Regions from separate parts of the Homo sapiens genome. Here regions 1, 3, 4, 5, 6 and 7 are each linked to region 2. The links are contacts of gene promoters, found by promoter capture Hi-C in blood cells and fetal thymus (Javierre and others, 2016). All regions are on one chromosome and are shown on one strand. The core of a region is centred on a gene start or on the middle of the fragment in contact, and the rest is flanking DNA. Distances in the headings are between cores, read along the strand shown.

The links. The method cuts DNA at HindIII sites, captures the fragments that hold promoters and counts their contacts. A CHiCAGO score of 5 or more calls a contact.
Region 1: a fragment that was not itself captured here is called in contact with the fragment with the promoter of ZNF397 in region 2 in 1 of 17 cell types (megakaryocytes); the score reaches 6.9 in megakaryocytes.
Region 3: a fragment that was not itself captured here is called in contact with the fragment with the promoter of ZNF397 in region 2 in 2 of 17 cell types (erythroblasts and total B cells); the score reaches 5.2 in erythroblasts.
Region 4: a contact is called between a fragment that was not itself captured here and the fragment with the promoter of ZNF397 in region 2, in 5 of 17 cell types (total B cells, total CD8 T cells, activated CD4 T cells and 2 more). The highest score is 7.9, in total B cells.
Region 5: a fragment that was not itself captured here is called in contact with the fragment with the promoter of ZNF397 in region 2 in 1 of 17 cell types (endothelial precursors); the score reaches 5.4 in endothelial precursors.
Region 6: a fragment that was not itself captured here is called in contact with the fragment with the promoter of ZNF397 in region 2 in 3 of 17 cell types (total CD4 T cells, total B cells and erythroblasts); the score reaches 5.6 in total CD4 T cells.
Region 7: a contact is called between a fragment that was not itself captured here and the fragment with the promoter of ZNF397 in region 2, in 1 of 17 cell types (erythroblasts). The highest score is 5.4, in erythroblasts.

Annotation. Positions count from the first base shown.
Region 1 is chr18:34,865,949-34,868,759 of GRCh38, forward strand. All of the region lies in intron 17 of DTNA (dystrobrevin alpha), which reads left to right. Among named protein-coding and RNA genes, the nearest start is that of DTNA-AS1, 100 kb to the left of the region's middle. The HindIII fragment of the contact is 3,379 bases long and covers 1-2,811 here.
Region 2 is chr18:35,239,728-35,242,577 of GRCh38, forward strand. It overlaps ZNF397 (zinc finger protein 397), which reads left to right and starts at 1,307. Exons shown (of 4, transcript NM_001135178.3): 1 at 1,307-1,382; 2 at 2,664-2,850. The coding sequence starts at 2,744. RefSeq lists enhancers at 989-1,098, 1,044-1,569 and a silencer at 1,359-1,488. The HindIII fragment of the contact is 1,449 bases long and covers 441-1,889 here.
Region 3 is chr18:35,641,223-35,644,298 of GRCh38, forward strand. All of the region lies in intron 1 of GALNT1 (polypeptide N-acetylgalactosaminyltransferase 1), which reads left to right. Among named protein-coding and RNA genes, the nearest start is that of MIR3975, 51 kb to the left of the region's middle. The HindIII fragment of the contact is 2,145 bases long and covers 753-2,897 here.
Region 4 is chr18:35,591,702-35,594,637 of GRCh38, forward strand. All of the region lies in intron 1 of GALNT1 (polypeptide N-acetylgalactosaminyltransferase 1), which reads left to right. It overlaps MIR3975 (microRNA 3975), which reads left to right and starts at 36; the gene lies at 36-105. RefSeq lists an enhancer at 571-690. The HindIII fragment of the contact is 3,207 bases long and covers 24-2,936 here.
Region 5 is chr18:35,700,934-35,704,079 of GRCh38, forward strand. It overlaps GALNT1 (polypeptide N-acetylgalactosaminyltransferase 1), which reads left to right. Exons shown (of 12, transcript NM_020474.4): 10 at 1,964-2,062; 11 at 2,576-2,710. All of the region lies in intron 2 of LOC105372064 (a long non-coding RNA gene), which reads right to left. Among named protein-coding and RNA genes, the nearest start is that of MIR3975, 110 kb to the left of the region's middle. RefSeq lists an enhancer at 2,172-2,466. The HindIII fragment of the contact is 667 bases long and covers 1,533-2,199 here.
Region 6 is chr18:35,610,747-35,613,476 of GRCh38, forward strand. All of the region lies in intron 1 of GALNT1 (polypeptide N-acetylgalactosaminyltransferase 1), which reads left to right. Among named protein-coding and RNA genes, the nearest start is that of MIR3975, 20 kb to the left of the region's middle. The HindIII fragment of the contact is 532 bases long and covers 1,156-1,687 here.
Region 7 is chr18:35,723,595-35,726,478 of GRCh38, forward strand. The region is part of intron 1 of LOC105372064 (a long non-coding RNA gene); the gene reads right to left. Among named protein-coding and RNA genes, the nearest start is that of MIR3975, 130 kb to the left of the region's middle. The HindIII fragment of the contact is 295 bases long and covers 1,381-1,675 here.

The sequences.
Region 1 (2,811 bases), core at 217-2,716, 370 kb before region 2:
TAACCAAGTAGACTTGGAGTGATAGTCACTGAGGTGGCAGAGGCCTGGACCTGCCGTCAAAGGTGTGTTGATGTTTCCCCATCTTGCGTTCCTTCACACTGTGTACATGCTCTTATTGGAACCCTGGGTAATCTAACTGTTATTGATTCAATCTTTCTGTAGGAAGAAGAACTGAAGCAGGGAGTAAGTTATGTCCCCTACTGCAGGTCTTAACTAACAGTGGAGGGGCCTGCCGACCTGCGGTTTTCTCATTGCTTTTGCTCTAATGTATGTTCATGCTTCAGTTTGGAAAGAGAAAAAAGTCATACTAATTTGCTTCTTTTTCAATGTAGTGCTTGAATTGAGATATATAAATTTAGCATTTTTTATAACTATCACTACTATCCACATCAAAAGAAGAACTATGACATCTTTTAGAAAAGGGAACGAATTGTCATTTATTGGAAACATTTTAGATCCCCAGAGGTATAAGTTTCAAACCAGTCTTAGCTTTTCAAGTTGTTGATCAGACCCTTCTCTTAACAGAGAGATACCACAGTCACTAGAGATACCCTGAGGTTCATGTCATCCCAAAACCCACAGCACTCAGAAGCTAACCTCTACACCCACTCACACTGTGAGTATTCAGTTCGGTTTCATTTTACTGAAAACCTGTGAAACCTCTTTTTATAAAAATCAGGCAATTAAATCCCTTTTCATCACACAATTATTGAGCCTTGTTCCCCATGGCTCACCAAAATGTGCTCAATTTTGTGAGAGAAAGACTGTACTCCATAACTGACTATTCACGTCCCATCTTTTTGGCTCTTCCCCAAAGCAGAATCCTTACTGTTGGTTGACAGTAATCTCTTTTTAAAAAGTAACTCTCAGCTTTTTCCTTAGCACCAGAGCCTTTCGGCTCCGGGAGACGAGAGGGTCATTACATACTTTTTTTTTTTTCTGGAAATAGGGGCATTGTGACTTTATAGCCTAAACTGGAGCTGTCTGAACCTGTGGTCAGGCTCAAGAGCCAGCAGGGGGAGCAGCAAACTCAAAAAAAAAAACAAATTAAATTAAATTAAATTAAATTAAATAGAAGCAAAATAAAAGCAGCTTTAATTTCAAGTGCATGTACCACGCTATGTATGACAATATATCCCACTCACTAGCATTATTTAAAAGTTTCACATTATTTCCATGGATCAATTAGAACCACAACCTGTCCAATTTCAACGTATCTTTCATTTCTTCTGTATGCTCTTTTCTATTATTCATTATGTGTGTTTGTGTGTAACAAAGAATGTTTGGAAAATGCTGGACACATTTTTACCCTTCATTCCCATGGTCTGTAAAAAAGGAAAGTGTAAAATCAATCTGTAATGTCAGACAATAAAGATAATGTATTACATTATTTTGTATTTTGTGAAAAAAATTACTTTACTAAATTAAAGTCAAATTTTAACAGAAGACAGTCCCCCTGGGTGAAGGACACATAACACATACAGCCTGTATAATTGCCCATGAATGCATACATGGGGTATTGCTATTGTATTTCCAATACACTTAGATCATGGTAAAGAAAAATGCCTTCTTCATGATACTTCTCTGCAAATGGCTTCTTTCCTCTCCTGTCTCTTATTTAGCATGTGCATAGAAAAAGGAAATAAGGTTCAATTATAACCTCCCTCCTCCTAGCAGAGAGAGAGGGCAATCATCCTGTCGTCATCAGCCTTGCTTTAGCCATTTCCCTTGGGGATACTTTCCAGGCCATTTCCCAGGCAGCAGGATCTTGAAAGGCTCCTATGGACCAGGAAGTTCGTAAACAGATGGATGCACAGAGCCAAACTGTGGCAGTGCCCCCAAGGTGGCGCCACTGCCCCCTCACCTTCCAGCTCCTCTCCACCAAGCCCCTCAGCAGCTTCTGCATCTCAGGGGGCCAACAGCGGGTACTGCGGTGTCGGTACCCAAGGACCAGGGCCCACGTCACCCAGATGTCAGCAATACATCGTCTGGGTAGTGGCAGAGTTTGCCTATTTCACTTATTTATCTTTTTTGCTTTTATACACAAGCCTCTTTTCAAAAAGGACCTGAGGCAGCTTACAACAAAAGATATAAACAGTGACTTCATAAAATTGAAATAGAAAAATCAAAAACTAAAGAAAATAAAATGTGAATATGCTAATCTTAAGGGACAAGGATGTTACTCTGCATGTTCTGGCAATGAAGCAAAAAAAAAAAAAAAAGGAAAATTATCGGTGGTTTTATCAGTACAGAAATACCACTTCTCAGGGGAACAAAATTTCTGTTGGCATAAAATATGAAAGAAAGTCTTCACTGGGAGCTTTATAGGAGTACTGGACGATAGAAAAGGAAAAAAAGCAGTCATAGATTTCATGTGGCTGTTTCTTATACTGACCTCAGTCAAAATTAAAAGCAGAACCTTATCAATCCCAGCCCTATAGAGGCGGTTCTGCAAGGAAATAAACAAATGCTGTCCAAATATAGACTTCTCATGGTAAAACATGATCTAAGGAGAGAATTTAGAGGTTTTAGACTGGCATCTGCTTCTAAATTCTGTTTTTATTTATGAGTGTTTCTCCCCTTTGGGGACATTGTCTTTGTAAAACCAAACTTAGAACACCCCCACACAACAAATTGTGCTGGATTTAATAACCTCTACTTGCTTTATCATAAGTCTGTGTGGTTCAATGTAGTGTTTTATTATACTGGCATATATAATTTCTACTTACATTGTTTCTTGTTAGAGGTAATGCATGAATTTATCCCTCTCGAGGAGAGAACATGAATTAAAAAAAATAGTGCCTGTAATAT
Region 2 (2,850 bases), core at 57-2,556:
GAGTCACTAATAGCTTTGAATGCTAACGAACATTTTTCTCAAATATGTGTTTTAAGTCTTGGCTCACAAAGGAGAATTTGTTTCTATGTATGTATGTATCGCTTTGTTATTATCCTGTGTACTTTTTTAATATAACATTTTAAAAATATGTAACATTTAAACATGTAAAATGTAACGTTTTAAAAATAAATACAAATAAATGGGAAACGATTTGCAACAAACGAGTTGCTATCCTTAATAAGCAAAAAATTCTCACAAATAAAAAAGAAAAATCTTACTCCCTTAATTTTTTAAATGGGAAAAGCCATCTCTGAAGAACCATAAATGGTCAGTAAACATGAAGGGGGACTATCTTAAGCTCACAAAGTTGAAACATGAGGCATCATTTTTCACCGACTAAATAGCCAAAGAAAAATTTAAACAGTGAGACAATACCAGCAAGCTTCCACTGAAGAACGGGAAGACCCTAAGATAGGCTCCAGGAGTCTACGATACCAGTCTCCTTGAACTATGGGGACGTGGACGTCCCTGGTCACAAGTTGCCTGACTTTGGGCGATGTCTACGGCTGTAAATTTGGGATTATATAGCCACAGCACAGAACTGTTGTAAGGCTCCAGTGATACTCATAGGCAAAAGCAATATAAGTGACTGTTAGTTTTTGTTCAGCCTATTCATCCTTACATTTACTTTTGTCGGAAAAGAACTGGAATCACAGGAAAATCTGAGGTTTTTTTTTTTTTTTTTTTTTTGAGACAGAGTCTCGCTCTGTCGCCCAGGCTGGAGTGCAGCACATCTCAGTTCACTGCAAGCTCCGCCTCCCGGGTTCACGCCATTCTCCTGCCTCAGCCTCCCGAGTAGCTGGAACTACAGGCGCCCGCCAACATGCCCAGCTAAATTTTTGTATTTTTAGTAGAGACGGGGTTTCACCGTGTTAGCCAGGATGGTCTCTATCTCCTGACCTCGTGATCCGCCCGCCTCGGCCACCGCGCCCGGCCGAAAATCTGAATATTTTAATGGAAAACTGGGAGTGAGATTCGGGAATTACTTGAGACCAACAATGATGGGTGGTGCCAGGAGAAAGCCAGGGTGGGAACGGCCCAGGCGAGATGCGGGACCCTCCAGGTGCCGCCGCTCACAAGGACCCCTGACTCCTAGCGCACCCTCCCCTGGCCTTGGAGATTCCGCCGGGCTAGCGGCTACCGGGAGAAGGCGGTGGAAACTGTAGAGCCCGCGGCTCTGATTGGCTACCTCAGAGCAAGGGGCGGGGCGGCGGAGGACCCGAAGGGCGCGAGAGCGGAACACTGCGTACGCGCACTTCCGGTCTTTGTGGCTTGCAGCTCGGGGTGGGTGGCTCATTTCCTGGCCGCTCCTGGGCTTCGCGGTGAGGGACGTGGGCCCCTAGGAAGAGGGAGGTGGGGTTGGGAGCGCGCGCCGGACAGTGGAGGAGCTCCGCTCCTCGGCCTGCCCATCCCCAGGTCGCGGCCCTTTGGCCCGCGCGGCGTCTCCAAGCGACTGGGGAACTCAGAGGAGGCCAGCACTCAAACTCCTGCTTTCCAAAGGAAAACGCAGTTCCGCTGACCCCGTGACTTCGTAAATGCTGCGGTTTAACCAAGGATATAAAAATAGAAGGGCTAGTTAGTTAGTTAGTTAGTGCGGCCGGACTGGTTAAACCTTAAATTTGTAGGCTAAATATTTTAATTCATCTCTTAACGTTAACCGTAGTGTGAGGAATGAATTTTACTCATCTGTCCTGACAAACTAAGGGCATACATTCCTATCGATATCTCGCCATCCTAAAAGCAGGTCAAGTTTGGTCTGTGTCACAACATTTAATACCTATTTGTTACCATATTTTGCTTTTGAACATTTTTAGTCTTGGGATATTCTAAGCTTTTTCAGAACTGATACGGATCTCTTTGCTGCTTTTGTGTATGTGATACCTATCATGTTTTTGAACACATGGTAAGCATTTTACAGATACGTCTTGGTTCTTGGTCAATTCCTCTGTAGACTCGTTTATTCATAAGCAAAAATCTTAATGCTCAGTAAGTGCCTCAGTGTTTGTTGAAGTAATTCGGTAAACACCAAATGCGATCAAATGACAAATATCCAATATTTACATCAACTCATGTTTAATGTGAACTTTTAAAAAAACGTTATTACTGCCTTAAATGAAAATCAACATTACTTGCTTTAGATAGAAAGTAAGTAAAAATAAATGTTTAAAATCAGTATTACTAAATTCTGCCTAAATATTTTTACTCTTGGAAGTCTGATTCTGAAGCCTGTATTTTATTTAAAAGAGAGTTCTACAAGTTTTATTAATACATACATGTTAAAGATAGACTTTTCTCCTTGATACAATCAGAATTGAAAGAATTGGAAAGGAAATTTTCTCACTATGTGATTGATGTTAATGTTGCATTCACATTCTTAGGCTTCTAAAATAGTTTTTTCTAACATTAGTGGTAGGAATTCTTCATAATGGGAGACACTAATTGAGGTTAATGATTTTTAGTTTATCATCACATTATTGTTTTATTTAGTGATAGCCCCAAATCTACTCCCTTTCAATATATTACTAAAGTTACTCATCTTTCTTATTACAAGTACTTAGAGATTTTATTGATTGCTGTAAGTTAACTGCTTTTATATCCTTCAGGAAAGAAGAGATTACTCACACTCCTTCGCAAGCACAGAACCAGTTGTACTGAGCTTTTTGCTAAGCTGTTTCAGCCAAGAATGGCTGTGGAATCTGGAGTGATTTCAACCCTGATACCTCAGGATCCTCCGGAACAAGAACTAATACTAGTGAAAGTAGAAGATAACTTTTCCTGGGATGAGAAATT
Region 3 (3,076 bases), core at 575-3,074, 400 kb after region 2:
TTGCCTGAGCCCAGGAGTATGAGACCAGCCTGGCCAATATGGTGAAACCCTCTCTTTGCAAAAAAAATACAAAAATTAGGCGGGCATGATGGCGTGTGCCTGTAGTCCTAGCTCGGAGGCTGAAGTGGGAAGGATTCATTGAGCCCAGGAGGTTGAGGCTTCAGTGAGCCATGATTGTGCCACTGCATTCCAACCTGGGCAACAGAGGGAGACCCTGTCTCCAAAACGCTGGGAAAAGATACTGCAGTACATTTAACTCACACAAGGCTACATTAGGATCTTCACAGACTAACAAGAAAAACACAAAACAACACATCTAGTAGAGCAGAACTTCAGTAGGCATATTAGAGAAGAGGAAATGGAATGATCAGTAATGCCAGAGATGGTGGGGAAATGCAAATTAAAACTATATTAAGATACCAATTACATCAGATTGTCAAAAATAAAAATGTCTGACAGTAATAAGTGTTGTCAACGATATAACACATCCACCACGTGCAGTGATATAACAGTTCACATCTGGTGGGTGGTTTCAGCCACCTGGGAAAACAAATTGGTGATATCTGATCATATTGAAAATATGCATACTGTGCCACCTAACAACCATACGTATATACTTTAGATCAGGGGTCGGTGTGATGACTCATGAGTTAAGAATGGTTTTTAACATTTTTAAGTGCTTAAAAAAAATAATATTTTGTAATTTATAGTGTGAAAATTATATGAAATTCAAATTTTGGTGTCCAAAAATAAGCTTGGAATATTGTCACATTCATTTATGTACCTCTTACAGATGCTTTCATGGTACAACACTAGAGTTAAGTTGTTGCAACAGACATTGCATGACTCAAAAAGCCTGAAATCTTTATCATCTGGCCCTTTGCAGAAAATATTTACTGACCTCTTCTCTAAATAAATACTCTTGCACATGCGTACTAGTAGACATGTTCAGGAATGGTCATAGCAGTATTGCTTGTAATAACGGAAACCTAGAAAGAACCCAAATGTCTGTTAAGAGTAGAGAAATAGGTTTGCTAAGCCAGCGGAATACTATTCAGTAGTGAAATGGAATTGGATGCATGGATGGATCCAAGCATATGGATAAATCTCAGAAACAGTGTTAGAAAAAAGCAAGTCAGGTTTTTCCACTTATAAGCACTTCAGAAACAGTCAAGTATAAATAAGGCATTGTTAAAGATACTCGTGAGGTTAAATTATCAGGACAAGGAAGGACCGTAAGAATAGGGATTGCCTTTGAAGAGTTGGGGAAGAGATGGGATTTGAGAGGGAACTTTAAAAATCATGTTCTTATTGTTAAACCAGGTGGTGGAGATGTGTGTTGTGTTGTGATCATTTATTTCCGTGACATGTTTTATACGTACTCTTTTGATATTTTATAAGTTTTTGTGATCTGGGGCATTAAAAAGTATCTTTTCAAATAGTATAGTCTGTCTCATAATATATAATTATGACCCACAGAGTGGAAGCTCATCAGCAGACTAGAAGCTGCTTTTTACCTATTGCCCCCTCTTCCCTGGTTCCCCAAGCATTCTGGTTGTGTCAGGAACCCAATTCAGATTTTCTTAAGCAGAAAAGGGGACTAATAGGATTCCTCGTTGGGTCACTGAAGCCAAGGAAGAGTCAGGGACTTGGTCACTGTCAGGGTGCTCTGCCACTCATCTGTATGTCTCTGCTTGGCCACATTGTTTTTGGCTGCAAGTGGCCTTCTCCATGTCGGGGGCAGTGTGACTGAGCGCAGTCCTAGAGCACAGCCTTCCAGGTCTGTGACTCAGGCCAAGGAGTCAGGTCCTGTGGTCAGCCTGGCTAGGTCATACTGTGGCCAGGCAACTGGATCTGTTACCAGAAGAAACCTTTTGAGGAGGGGAGGAGAGGTTAAGGGTCAGAATCATGAGCCCGGCAGCCACTTCTGTTTGTAATGGTTACATATGTATTAATTGTAAAGCAATATGTGTGGCATTTTGTCACACCTTTGTGTGGATATCAGGGCTGTTTTGATGTTAACGCTAAGATGTTGCCTAAGACATGGCACTGAGACATGGCCGAGGTGGGAAGAGGGGTTAGAAATGTCTGTTGAGCATATTATTACCTGTTAAAAATAAAAATACAGCATGATCAGCTCTCCTACCACTTTATAGTCACACCTGTCTCCTTCCCTTCTTCCCATAAGGACATTTAAGGCATTAAGTACTTGAGTCTAAATAGATGTTACAAACTTGGTTTAAAACATAACACATATCTGGCTGGGCACGGTGGCTCACGCCTGTAATCCCAACACTTTGGGAGGCCGAGGCAGGCAGATCACGAGGTCAGGAGATCGAGACCATCCTGGCTACCACAGTGAAACCCCATCTCTACAAATTCAAAAAATGAGCAGGGCGTGGTGGCAGGCACCTGTAGTCCCAGCTACTCGGGAGGCTGATGGCAGGCACCTGTAGTCCCAGCTACTCGGGAGGCTGAGGCAGGAGAATGGCGTGAACCGGGGAGGTGGAGCTTGCAGTGAGCCGAGATCGTGCCACTACACTCCAGCCTGGGCAACAGAGTGAGACTGACTCAAAAAAAAAAAAAGAAAAAAAAACACATATCTACTATTCTGAATGACTGGAAGGGCATTTAACCCATTGGTGTTTCATTGGGATGCAAATTTGTAGGGAGTTTGTATCTTTTGCTTTTCTGTTTGCCAGGTTCTTTGTTTTGAACATACATTACTTTACAAACAGGAAAAATATAAACTTTTAAAGGTATTGGTGGAAGTCAGTTTGTCATCTTAAAAACTGACATTCCACTCAAGACACTAAACACTGTATTCTCTAATTTGAAACATTCGAGCCAATAAATTTTATAGGAGTTTATTTACATCATGACTACCCCAAATGATAAGCTTGTTCTTCTGACCTCTAAACTTGAGATAACACCCGGGAAATAACTACAGAAAGAGAATATCCAGGTTTTAATGGAATGTGGACATCAATCTGGGCAGGAATTTTGGATTGATTATTTGCTAATTTTTTGTTAAATACTTATGTTGAATAAGAAGATTCCAAGACCTGAAAATTGG
Region 4 (2,936 bases), core at 377-2,876, 350 kb after region 2:
ATTGATTGACATAATCAGAATTAAGCTTTAACATACATGTAGGTGAGTGATTGCTATTTCAAAAGACTAGAGGTAGGAAATGAGGCTAATGCACTACTTCACATGACTTTGTATGCAGGAGCATACAGGTGCATTTTTAGAAATGGAATCAGATGGTCTCGTCAATGGGTGAAGGAAAAATAAGTCAATCACTTGATTTGTAAGGGGTGTCACCATTAACAGCAATGGAAAAAAACAGAGTTTGAGAAGAGTTAATGAATGTGTCTTGGTACATATCCAGTTGCAGGTGTCAGAGAAGGATTCCAGGTGGAACTGTCCTGTAGGCTTCATAGTTGGAGCACTGCATCTTGTTGGGAGAGGTCAGGTCTGGAGGTGCAGATGAGCATCATCAGCATTGAAATGATGAAAACAGGGAGTGGTAGAAAGGGCTGAGGAATAAACCTGAGGGGATACTTACAGTTACGGGCCCGGATGAGGAAAGTGACTTTTACATCCTCACTGGGCACATATTTATTGAGTATCTGTTTGTGCCAGGCACTGTGACTACAATGGGAACTAAACAGACATAGATCCTGTCTTTGTTGATCATACAATTTAATGAGGAAGATAAAAATAGAAACAATTAAGTAAACAATGGGAGAAATGACATTTCAGCTGAGACCCAGAGGTCAAAAAGATTTTAATAATACAAAGAGTATGGGCAAGAGGATTCTGGTAAAAAAGAATGCTATGCACAGAGACTGTGTAGCAAAGAGGACTCATTCTGTTTAAGGAACTGAAATACCAGTGTGGCTGAAGGGCCATTGGTGCAAGGGATGGGGGTGGGGTGAGATGAAGGTAGGAAAATTGGCATGGTATAGCTGATGCAAGACCTCATTCTCAGTGCTGTTGAAAGGTTTTGAGTAGGAGAAAGCTCTGCTCCTGATTTTAAGCAGATCACCCCTGCTGCAGTGTGGAGAATGGATTTGGGTGAGAGGGTGGGATGGGTAAAGGGGAGGCATGGAGATCAGTTGGGAAGCTCTTGCAGGAGGCCTGGACTAAATGGTGGTAGTGGATATGTCTGAGGCTGGGGATCAGGCTCTGGTGTTTGTCTCAGCAAGCTCTTCTGGCCTTCACCTTAGTACCTTTGTTTTTCTTTATCATCATATGTATCATGTTACCCCTCTCTGTTTATCCTTGCCCCTTTTAGACTGTGAATCCCTTATGTAGGGATAAGGACCTTCTCTTACTGGTCTGCCTACCACCTGAAAAGTGATCAGTAAATGTTGAATAAATCAATGTACTTGTCTTCATACTGAGGTTGTTTTCCTGTTGTTGTTGTTGTTTTTCCTTGAGAGGAGTTGCAAGACGTGGGAGGCTGTGGGCAGGGTTCCACGGGAGAAGGAGGATGCTGCATGTCTGGGACTTGTGAGGAGGAAGCACTGAAGAAATCTATGTGGCACACGGAGGTGTTTTCAGGTGTTGAACCATAGGGAGGTCTACGTGATTTCCTCATTAGGAGGATTAGAGAGGGCAGAGTCAGGAAACCAATAGAGGAGGCCTTATAAAGAAGACAGTTGCTGATGTCCAGTGCTGCTGAACAGGCAGGAGGGTGAAAAGATTCTTTCTCTGCTCTCTGTAGTTTTAGCAGAGGCGGAAGAGCAGAAATCTATTACCAGGGGATAGGAGTGACAGCAAATGTAGACCATTCCCTGAGGAAGTATTTGGGAGAGGAGAAAGGAGGAGATTGTAGCTTGCATTCGGGGTAGTTGAGGCAAGTGGTTTTTAGGATAGGAAGGAGCAGAACCTATTATTAGTAGGTCGTAGGTTATGTTGAGTCAGGGTAGTAAGGTATATGAGAGTCACTGAGGGGTGACGGGGGACAAGGAAGGTCAACTGTGGTGACTGGAGATGGCAAGCACCCCATTGCAAGAGGGCAGCTAATCACCTACTAGGATTTTGCTCTTTGGGTATGCTCAGTCAGTGGTGGCAGATAATTTTTTTTTTTTAAACCAGAGAAGCTAGAATACAAGTCTTTTTTGTTTTGAGATGGAATCTTGCTCTGTCACCCAGGCTGGGGTACAGTGGCGCGATCTGGGCTCACTGCAACCTCCGCCTCTCGGGTTCAAGCTATTCTCCTGTCTCTGCCTCCTGAGTAGCTGGGACTACAGGCACGTGCCATCACACCTGGCTAAGTTTTGTATTTTTAGTAGTGACGGGGGTTTCATCATGTTGGTCAGGCTGGCCTTGAACTCCTGACCTCAGGTGATCTACCCACCTCAGCCTCCCAAAGTGTTGGGATTACAGGAGTGAGTCACCGTGCCCAGCCTATAATACAAATCTTGATTTTTCAAGTGCAATGTCCTGATTTTGGCAGTTAAATCAGTTTTTAAATCTTTTCTTTGGGCGGGGGGCGGGGGCAGGAGTAGGGGACAAAACCCTTGTCTCTGGCATAACTTTGCCTGAAAGTTACCTTGGGAGAAAGGGCTGATGGCATTGGTTGGTGAATGTGAAAGAGAAGAGGAGTTATTTGTGGAGCAAGGCTTCTAAGGCTTTGAAAAGGAATGTAATTAAGTGTACAAATAAAGAGTATTATCCTTAAAAAGGAGAAAAAACTCAGAGGAACAAGGGAGTGTGAGGTAAAAGTGAGGTGGAAGGAACTCCGGTCTGATGAGGTGGGATTTCTCTGTAGAGAGGCAAGGACTATGTTGGCTGGTCTGAGGATGTGCACAAGGGAAGGTAGAGGGTGAGAGAGGGGGTCCAGGAGAGGAGCTGTAAAGAATAGTAAGGCTTGGTCTGGCTAGTTAGTGTAGGTTTACAGGGGACCTTGCCAGTGTTTCAGAACTTTCTAATGCCACTATCCTAGAAGTTGAAGCAGAAAAAGTGAAGAGTAGAACTTACTGAGGGTTAGAGATTGTATGTAAGGCTGAAAGGTCCAATGAAGTGAGGGATTTTTT
Region 5 (3,146 bases), core at 616-3,115, 460 kb after region 2:
TTTATTTACATCTGCATTTGGGGGAAGAAATAGAGGAAAACAGGATTGGAGAGTTTATAATTTATATCAAAAGTATAAGGAAATAATTATTTTTTGTGAATATATGAGATAAATACTCATCTTTATCACAATATGAACTTTTTTTTTTTTCTTTAAGAGACAGGGCCTTGCTCTGTCACTTAAGTTGAAGTGCAGTGGCACAATTATAGCTTACTGCAGCCTTGAACTCTTGGGCTCAAGTGATCCTCCCACCTCAGCCTCCCGAATAACTGGGACTACAGGCGTGAGCCACCATGCCTAAGATTTGTATTTTTATTTTTTGTAGAGACAAGGTCTTGCTATGTTGCAAGTCTTGAACTCCTAGGCTCAGGCGATCCTACTGTCTTGGCCTCTTAAAGTGCTCGGGTTATAGACATGGGTCACTGTGATTGGCCCAATCTGAGCGAAATTCTTTTTCAAGTGAGATAGCCATCATCGTCTGGTATTAATTGATCACCTACCAGGATGAAGGAAGGTGTGCTTTATGCAAATTGGTATTTTACCATAAAATCTTTTATACAACCTAACACAACCTATTTATGAGGGAATAGGTTTCACAATTAATGGATAAAAAATGATGATGTAAATTATGTGGTAAAAGAACTCTTGGAAACATATAATGTATTGGACCCTGAGAAAAAAACATTTTGAAATTTCTAGCTTGAATAATTGGACAAGTTGTGGGAATAGTAATAAAAATAGGGATATCAGGAAAACGGGAAATTTTGGAGAAATGATAATGAGGTTTGTTTTAGGTAGCACTTCTCAAGAGGGGATGGGGTGGGGACGTATTAAAATGTGAAGATGATTAAGTGTTCATATTAGAAAATTGAGAAATTCTGTTTTGAACGAACCGAGTTTGAGATTTTGGTGGAATAGCAAGATGGATGTGACTAGTGATAAAGTGACAGTGCAGATTATTACTGTCTCTGAGCCTGTTCATGCTGGACTCTGAATTAGGTGCCTGGATACATTGTCTTACATAGCATCAGCACAGAACTGACATTAGCATAGAACTGACATTACCCCCCCAGTTCCTGATCTCAAAAGGTTTAGGTAACTTGTATTTAAACCTGAGTCTTCTATGTCAGAACCCTGGTTTTTATTCCTGGCTGCTTGGGAATATTGGAATAATATGCAGACTGTATATGTGTTTATAGAAGTAACTGGCTTTTTTGTGGTTTTAACTTTACCCCTACTTTATCTATCACACAAAATTAGTTACCTTTTTTAAAAAGTCTACATGACATGACAGATGTAGTTTCTCTTCTGGCTTAACCTGCTGACAGTACCGTACATAGGAATAGATTTAAGACTTTCAAACATCTGTTAATTTACCATATGCTTTTAAAACTGCAACAGTTTAGAGGAAACAAAATATCAAGGGGCATTACCTAAAATATTCCTCCTAATTCTGATGACTGACTTAAATTCCTTTTATGTAATCCACAAATGTCTAGTGAAAGAGTAGAGTTTGTACCACACTATGCTTAAGCTTCCAGGTAAGACAAGTTCCAAGCTCTTTGACTAGAGTCATCTTAGTCTCTCCTAAGTCATCAGAGTAGTTATCAGAATTAATGTTCTTGTCTTGATTGATAATAGTGTCATCAGGGAGTTAATTTTTTAAATCATTAACCAAAGTAGAGTTTGTTGAACTCAATACAAATTTGAAAGGAATAACTTGAAAAAAATGAAAAAAGAAATTGTAAGGATTTTCCCCCATAAACACAGAAAATTACATAAACAGTTGTAAGACCTTTCTAGACCAATGAATTTTAGATACTCAGACAGCGATAGGCCAATAGGCCATTTCAGAGTAGGGCCAGGGAAAGTTTAGGTTGATATTTAGTGTATATGTGTGTGTATCTGTCTGTCTAATTAACTTCTCCAACTCCTGATATTTTCATTATTTATTGTCCCATAGATACGAAATGTGGAAACGAATCAGTGTCTAGATAACATGGCTAGAAAAGAGAATGAAAAAGTTGGAATTTTTAATTGCCATGGTATGGGGGGTAATCAGGTGAGTATCTTAGAAAACTCTTAAAAGGGATAATTTTCAGATTGTTTTTACTTTGCCTTTTTTTTATACCATGACATCATTCAGGAAATATTTTCCTTCCTTTAAAGAGAAAATAATAAAGACTTTTAGGTGAAGGAAGCTTTCAATCCAGTGATTTTTTTTTTTAATGAAACATTTGTGAAAGGCCCATTGTGAGAACTATGTTTACATTGCTGAGCACAAAATTTATTTTGCCCTTTTTATTCAAACAGATGACAACCCTTGACAATACATTCAGTGTATACAGAGAGCTCAAGGTCATTTTTGCTTCAGCTTGTAAGCAAGAAAATGAGTAACATAACATCAATGTAAATTAGTGGTAGCTTTTCTGAGTCACTTTATTCTTCATTACTTTAATAAAGTACATAAATCATGTACCTTGAAATACTTGTATTTTCCCTGACAGCTAATTGGGCATTTAAAATGCTGACTAATTTATTTTTTCTGTTTATGTGTGTGCATTTTTATTTCCAGGTTTTCTCTTATACTGCCAACAAAGAAATTAGAACAGATGACCTTTGCTTGGATGTTTCCAAACTTAATGGCCCAGTTACAATGCTCAAATGCCACCACCTAAAAGGCAACCAACTCTGGGAGTATGACCCAGTGGTAAGTTATGCAGTTGCCTATAGTAATAAAATTATGTGTGTCACTGGGTATATTTATATACTTTATATCTAAAGGAATGAGTTCTTGTGGACCTTGAATATGGATCAAACTTGTCTTATACACTAAATATTGACAGGCGGGAAAAATAAGTAAAATAAATGTGTTTTAATCTCCCTAATAATTAAATTTTAGTCTTATAAAATCACAGTTGCCTCCAATCCCTGGGTCCTTGTTTACTGAGTAGCCACTGTTCCTTCTGTATGTCTTCAAGTTCTATAGTCTAGTTTGGGAGAAATGAGGCAGAAAGTAGGCTTTTAAAATTACTTAATTAAACACTTCAGTGAAAGATAAGTTTTAATTAATAAAGTTCTCTGGCTTGTGATGATTTCCCAGTGACATATATGACAGAACCTTTCCTATTTATCTTTCCTTTTGT
Region 6 (2,730 bases), core at 172-2,671, 370 kb after region 2:
GACTTGTGATATGTTAATATAAACATTTTTATGAAAAATAACTTTTCCAAAACAAAAAAAGTGAGAAGTGTGGCATTATCTGACATTTGTGTAAATCCCATTAGTGTCTGGCTTCTCATAGCTGGATTCTCATACCCTCTTTTTTCCATTCAGTCTATTGATACTGCATATCATGTAGCCTCTGGACCTCAGCCACATGCTTAGGAGGGAATGACAGTAAACAGGCAAATGGTGACTTGGCATAGTATAAAAATAGTCTTGACCTTGCAGACCCCTTGAAAGGGTCTTGATGACCCCTTGAGTTGGATAGGGTGGGGGTCTTTGTACTACATTTTCAGAACTGCTGCTGTAGGTGGATGATTTTCAAACTTTTTAGTAGCAGGAGTATATTTTCAAATATCTCCTAACAAGTTCCAATGCATAGAAAAGATAAAGGTGGAGCTGTTTTGGTTAAAGTGCATATGTGGTGGGAATACGGATTCGGGAGCAGGGGAAGGTCCCTGGAGCCATGCTTTCACTTTTTTTCTCATTTTTTGGCTGAGCTACTAAATTGGCCAAGGGATTGATACCTCTAAGGCAGGAATACTGTGTGAGAGAAAGTGAGGCAGTTGAACATACTGCAGAGACTTTCCACCCTGTGCCATAGTTTAACTTTCAGGTATTTTATTTAATAGCTTTTTAATATTTTATATAAGTCAGTAAGAAAATTTGCTATAATTTGCAGCAACCTTAGAGAAATATTTATGTAATCGAATGTTATCTAACTCAGGTTTTTAAAAGACAATTTGCTCTCTTTATACATCTGAGAGTATGTAAAATAAAATTCAATCAAGGTCCAATATGTAATCAGACAAAAGTAAGGATGTGGAGGAAGTTTAATATTGGGAATTGGTAATCTAATTGTATGTGCCAAATGCAGGAGGAATTCTCATGGTCTTGAGAGTGGAGGGAATGGCAGCTGGCCAGAGGCTGCCTAGAGCTTGGACCCTGTGTTAGGCAGCACCACCACCAGCTAATGGTAATACGTTGTTGTGGTAAATGCAGTGTTTGACTGCCTTGGGAAACATTCTTAACTCAGTCTGTTTTGTTTCTGTGTAAAACTGTTTCTAATCTTTTTTGTCTTGAAAAAAGGATCCTGACAAAAGTTTCCCACAAAGCTTCTGTTTTTACACAAAAATCCTGTCTCTAAATTTGTAGGCCTTGCCCTTTGGGAGTTTTATCTGACAGGCAATATAAAGTGTCCTCATTACCATCATTATTTATTACCTGTATCATTAAAAAAGACATCATTTATTATATGTAATTATATCACAGTGTTTATATAAAATATGAGCTCTAGCTTTGTTGTCTACATTTTAAGAGAAGGAAAAATTGAGAGATAAAGGGAAAAGTAATGAAAATAATTATAAGGCTGCAAAATACTGTCTTAGGTTTGGATTTAAATATTTTTAAGATGTGATTTAATAACTTCACACATGATTCTTATGAAAAGAGAAAAAACCTGTTTTAATGAGTTAAAAATAGGGTACATCTCCATGAAAGATAGAAGGAGATATAATTGGACAATTTGCCTTCTGGATTAGGTTTAAAATTCAAAAGAACTGCCTAATAGTGATACTAATTAAATTCTAATTATCTTTAGAAATGTGAAAGATAAGTCTGCTAATTTAACCATTTTTTCAGTAAAAGCTTCACTCTAAGCCTATCGTGTTTATTTTTATATTTGTTTAATTTTTTTGAACAAATAGCATCATAAATTTTTTAGCATTTCCAATTAATATTAAAGTGTGCCCCAATTTCTTTGAAGTAGATGGAGTCATGTAGTATTAACCTTTCTAGGCCGGGCGTGGTGCTCACGCCTGTAATCCCAGCACTTTGGGAGGCCAAGGCATGGATCACCAGATGTCAGGCATTCAAGACCAGCCTGGCCAACGTGATGAAACTCTGTCTTTGCTAAAAATACAAAAAATTAGCTGGGCATGGTGGCAGGTGCCTGTAATCCCAGCTCCTCGAGAGGCTGAGGCAGGAGAATTGCTTGAACCCAGGAGGTGGAGGTTGCAGTGAGCTAATATCGCACCATTGCACTCCAGCCTGGGCAACAAGAATGAAACTCTGTCTCAAAAAAAAAAAAATCCGTAGGCAGCTCTCCATCATACCTCACACCAGGAGAGGAGGAAAGTACCCATAGTTTCTTAAAATTTTATGTTTAAAAAAATTAATCAGTGGTATGTTATAGGGAAGTAAGAAATGTTTTAGTAATAGCTACCTTGTTTAAGATCGCAGCTCCTCTCCACCAGGCACTCATGGTCCTCCCTACCTGACTACTCAATTTTTCTTTCTTTCCATTGCAATACCTTCTGTGCTATAATCTAGTTTACTTATGTTTATTATTTCCTGTCTCCTACTCTGCTCCTACAGAAGTGCTTTGAATGCATTGATCTTTGTTTAGTTTACTGATACGTACTGAGTGCCTAGAATATATTTGTTAATTCAATGAATTGCTTTTCCTTTGGCTTCTAGAAGTGGATGTACATTTCTTTTGGGGAAAAATACTCAGCAGACTATTCAAAACTTTAAGAGGCTTCTGTTTCTGGCAGCGTGGCAGAGTAGAGGTTAAAAAAAAGGTCCCACATTATGAAATGTTAAAAATACTGGACTTAATATTCAAAATATCTTTTAAATGCATCGTTGAGCTGACAAGAGGTAAGGAAACTTTCCAGAGGCCCAGAA
Region 7 (2,884 bases), core at 278-2,777, 480 kb after region 2:
GCCCATGCCTATGTCCTGAATGGTATTGCCTAGGTTTTCTTCTAGGGTTTTTATGGTTTTAGGTCTAACATTTAAGTATTTAATCCTTCTTGAATTAACTTTTGTATAAGGTGTAAAGAAGGGATCCAGTTTCAGCTTTCTACATATGGCTAGCCAGTTTTCCCAGCACCATTTATTAAATAGGGAATCATTTCCCCATTTCTTGTTTTTGTCAGGTTTGTCAAAGATCAGATGGTTGTAGATGTATGGTATTATTTCTGAGGGCTCTGTTCTGTTCCATTGGTCTATATCTCTGTTTTGGTACCAGTACCATGCTGTTTTGGTTACTGTAGCCTTGTAGTATAGTTTGAAGTCAGGTAACGTGATGCCTCCAGCTTTGTTCTTTTTGCTTAGGATTGTCTTGGCAATGTGGCCTTTTTTTGGTTCCATATGAACTTTAAAGTAGTTTTTTTTTCCAATTCTGTGAAGAAAGTCATTGGTAGCTTCCTGGGGATGTACAAGCCCTTACTCTTAAGCATAATCTACTGATTGCAGCCTGAATTACACCACCAAAAAATACTTCCTGCTTTCATTGCCTGTGAAACCCAGTGCAGTGTTCTAGCAACAAATAAAAATCCTGTGAAGAGCCTTGGCCCTCTAAAAGCATCCAGAAACAAAGCCAATCAACTATACTCAACTTACACTACAGTCAAACCCTCAAGGTAAATAAAGACCATAAAAAGCCCCATCCAAATCACAGCAACTTCAAAAGATAAAGGAACACCAGCCCTCACAGATGAGAGGGAACTAGCACAAGGACTCCGGCAATTCTAAAAGCCAGAGTGTTTTCTTACCTCCAAACAATTGCACAAGCTCCCCAGAAGTGGCTGTTAACCAGATTGAAATGGCTGAAATGACAGACATAGAATTCAGAATCTAGATAGCAAGGAAGCTAAAAAAAAAAAAAGAGAGAAAGTTGAAGCTAAAAAAAAAAAAAGAAATAAAAAAGAAAAAAACAGGAGAAAGTTGAAACCCAATCCAAGGAGAACAGTAAAATAATACAAGAGTTGAAAGATGGTATAACCTTTTTAAGAAAGAACCAAAACTGAACTCCAGGAACTGAAAAATTGACTACAGGAATTTCAGAATACAATTGGAAACATTAACAACAGAATAGATGAAGCTGAGGAAAGAATCTCACAGCTCAAAGACTCCTCCTTCAAATAAACTCAGGTAGACAAAAATAAAGAAAAAATGAACCTTTAAAAATGAACAAAACCTCAGAAATATGGGATTATAAAAAGGGACCAAACTTACGACTAATTGGCACTCCTGAAAGAGAAAAAAGAATAATCAACTTGGAACACATGTTTGAGGATATTGCCCATGAAAACTTCCCTAAGCTTGCTAGAGAAGTCAACATGCAACTTCGATAAATTTAGAGAACCCCTGCGAGATACTATATAAGATGACCATCCCTGAGATACATAGTTACCAGATTCTCCAAGGTCAACACCTCAGAAAAAATCTTACAGGCAGCTATAGAGAAGGAACAGGTCACTTACAAAGGGAACCCCTTCAGGTGAACAGTGGACATTCCAGCAGAAACCTTACAAGCCAGAAGAGTTGGGACCTGCTTTCCAGCATCCTTAAAGAAAAGAAATTCCAACCAAGAATTTCATATCTTACCAAACTAAGCTTCCTAAGTGAAGGAGAAATAAAACCATTTTCAGACACACAAGTGCTAAGGGAATTCATTATCGCTAGACCTGTCTTACAAGAGGTCCTTAGGAAGTGCTAAACATGAAAATGAAAGAACAATACCTGCCACCACAAAAACACACTTAAGTACATAGTCCACAGACACTATAAAGCAACTACACAAGCAAGCCTATATAACAACCAGCTAACAACAATAACAGGATCAAATCTTCACATATCTATATTAACCTTTAATGTAAACAGACTAAATGCCCCAGTTAAAAGGCATAGAGTGGCAAGTTGGATAAAAGAAAAAGACCCAAGTGTCTGCTGTCTTTAAGAGACCCATCTCACATGTAACAACAGCCATAGGCTCAAATTAAAAGAATGGAGAAAGATCTATCATGCAAACAGAAACCAAAAAAGAGCAGGAGTTTCTATTATTACATCAGAAAAACAGACTCGAAGCCAGCAATGATAAAAAAAGGACAAAGAAGGGCATTACATAGTGATAAAGGGTTCAATTCAGCAGTACTTAACTATCATAAATATATACACACACAACATTGGAGCACCTAGATTCATAACAAGTTCTTATAGACCTATGAAGAGACTTAGCCACATAATAATAGTGGGAAACCCAAAACCTCACTGACAGCATTAGACAGATCATTGAGGCAGAAAACTAATAAATATATTCTGGAATTAAACTCAATACTTGACCAGTTGGACCTAATAGACATCTGGAGAATACTCCATCCAACAACTACAGAATATACATTCTCCTCATCTGCACATGGAACATACTCCAAGACTGACTACATGCCATAAAGCAAGTATCAATAAATTCAAAAAAATCGAAATCATACCAACCACACACTCAGACCACAGTGCAATAAAAATAGAAGTCAATACCAAGATCTCTCAAAACTACACAATTACATGGAAATTAAACAACTTGCTCCTGAATAACTTTTGGGTAAAGAATGAAACTAAGGCAGAAATCAAAAAAATCATTTAAAACTAATGGAAATAGAGATGCAACATAGTAGAATCTTTGGGATACACCTAAAGCAGCGGTAAAAGGAACGTTTATAGTGCCAAATGCCTACAACAAAAAGTTGGAAAGATCTCAAATTAACAACCTAACACCACACCTAGAGGAACTAGATAAACAAGACAAAACCAACACCAAAACTAGCAG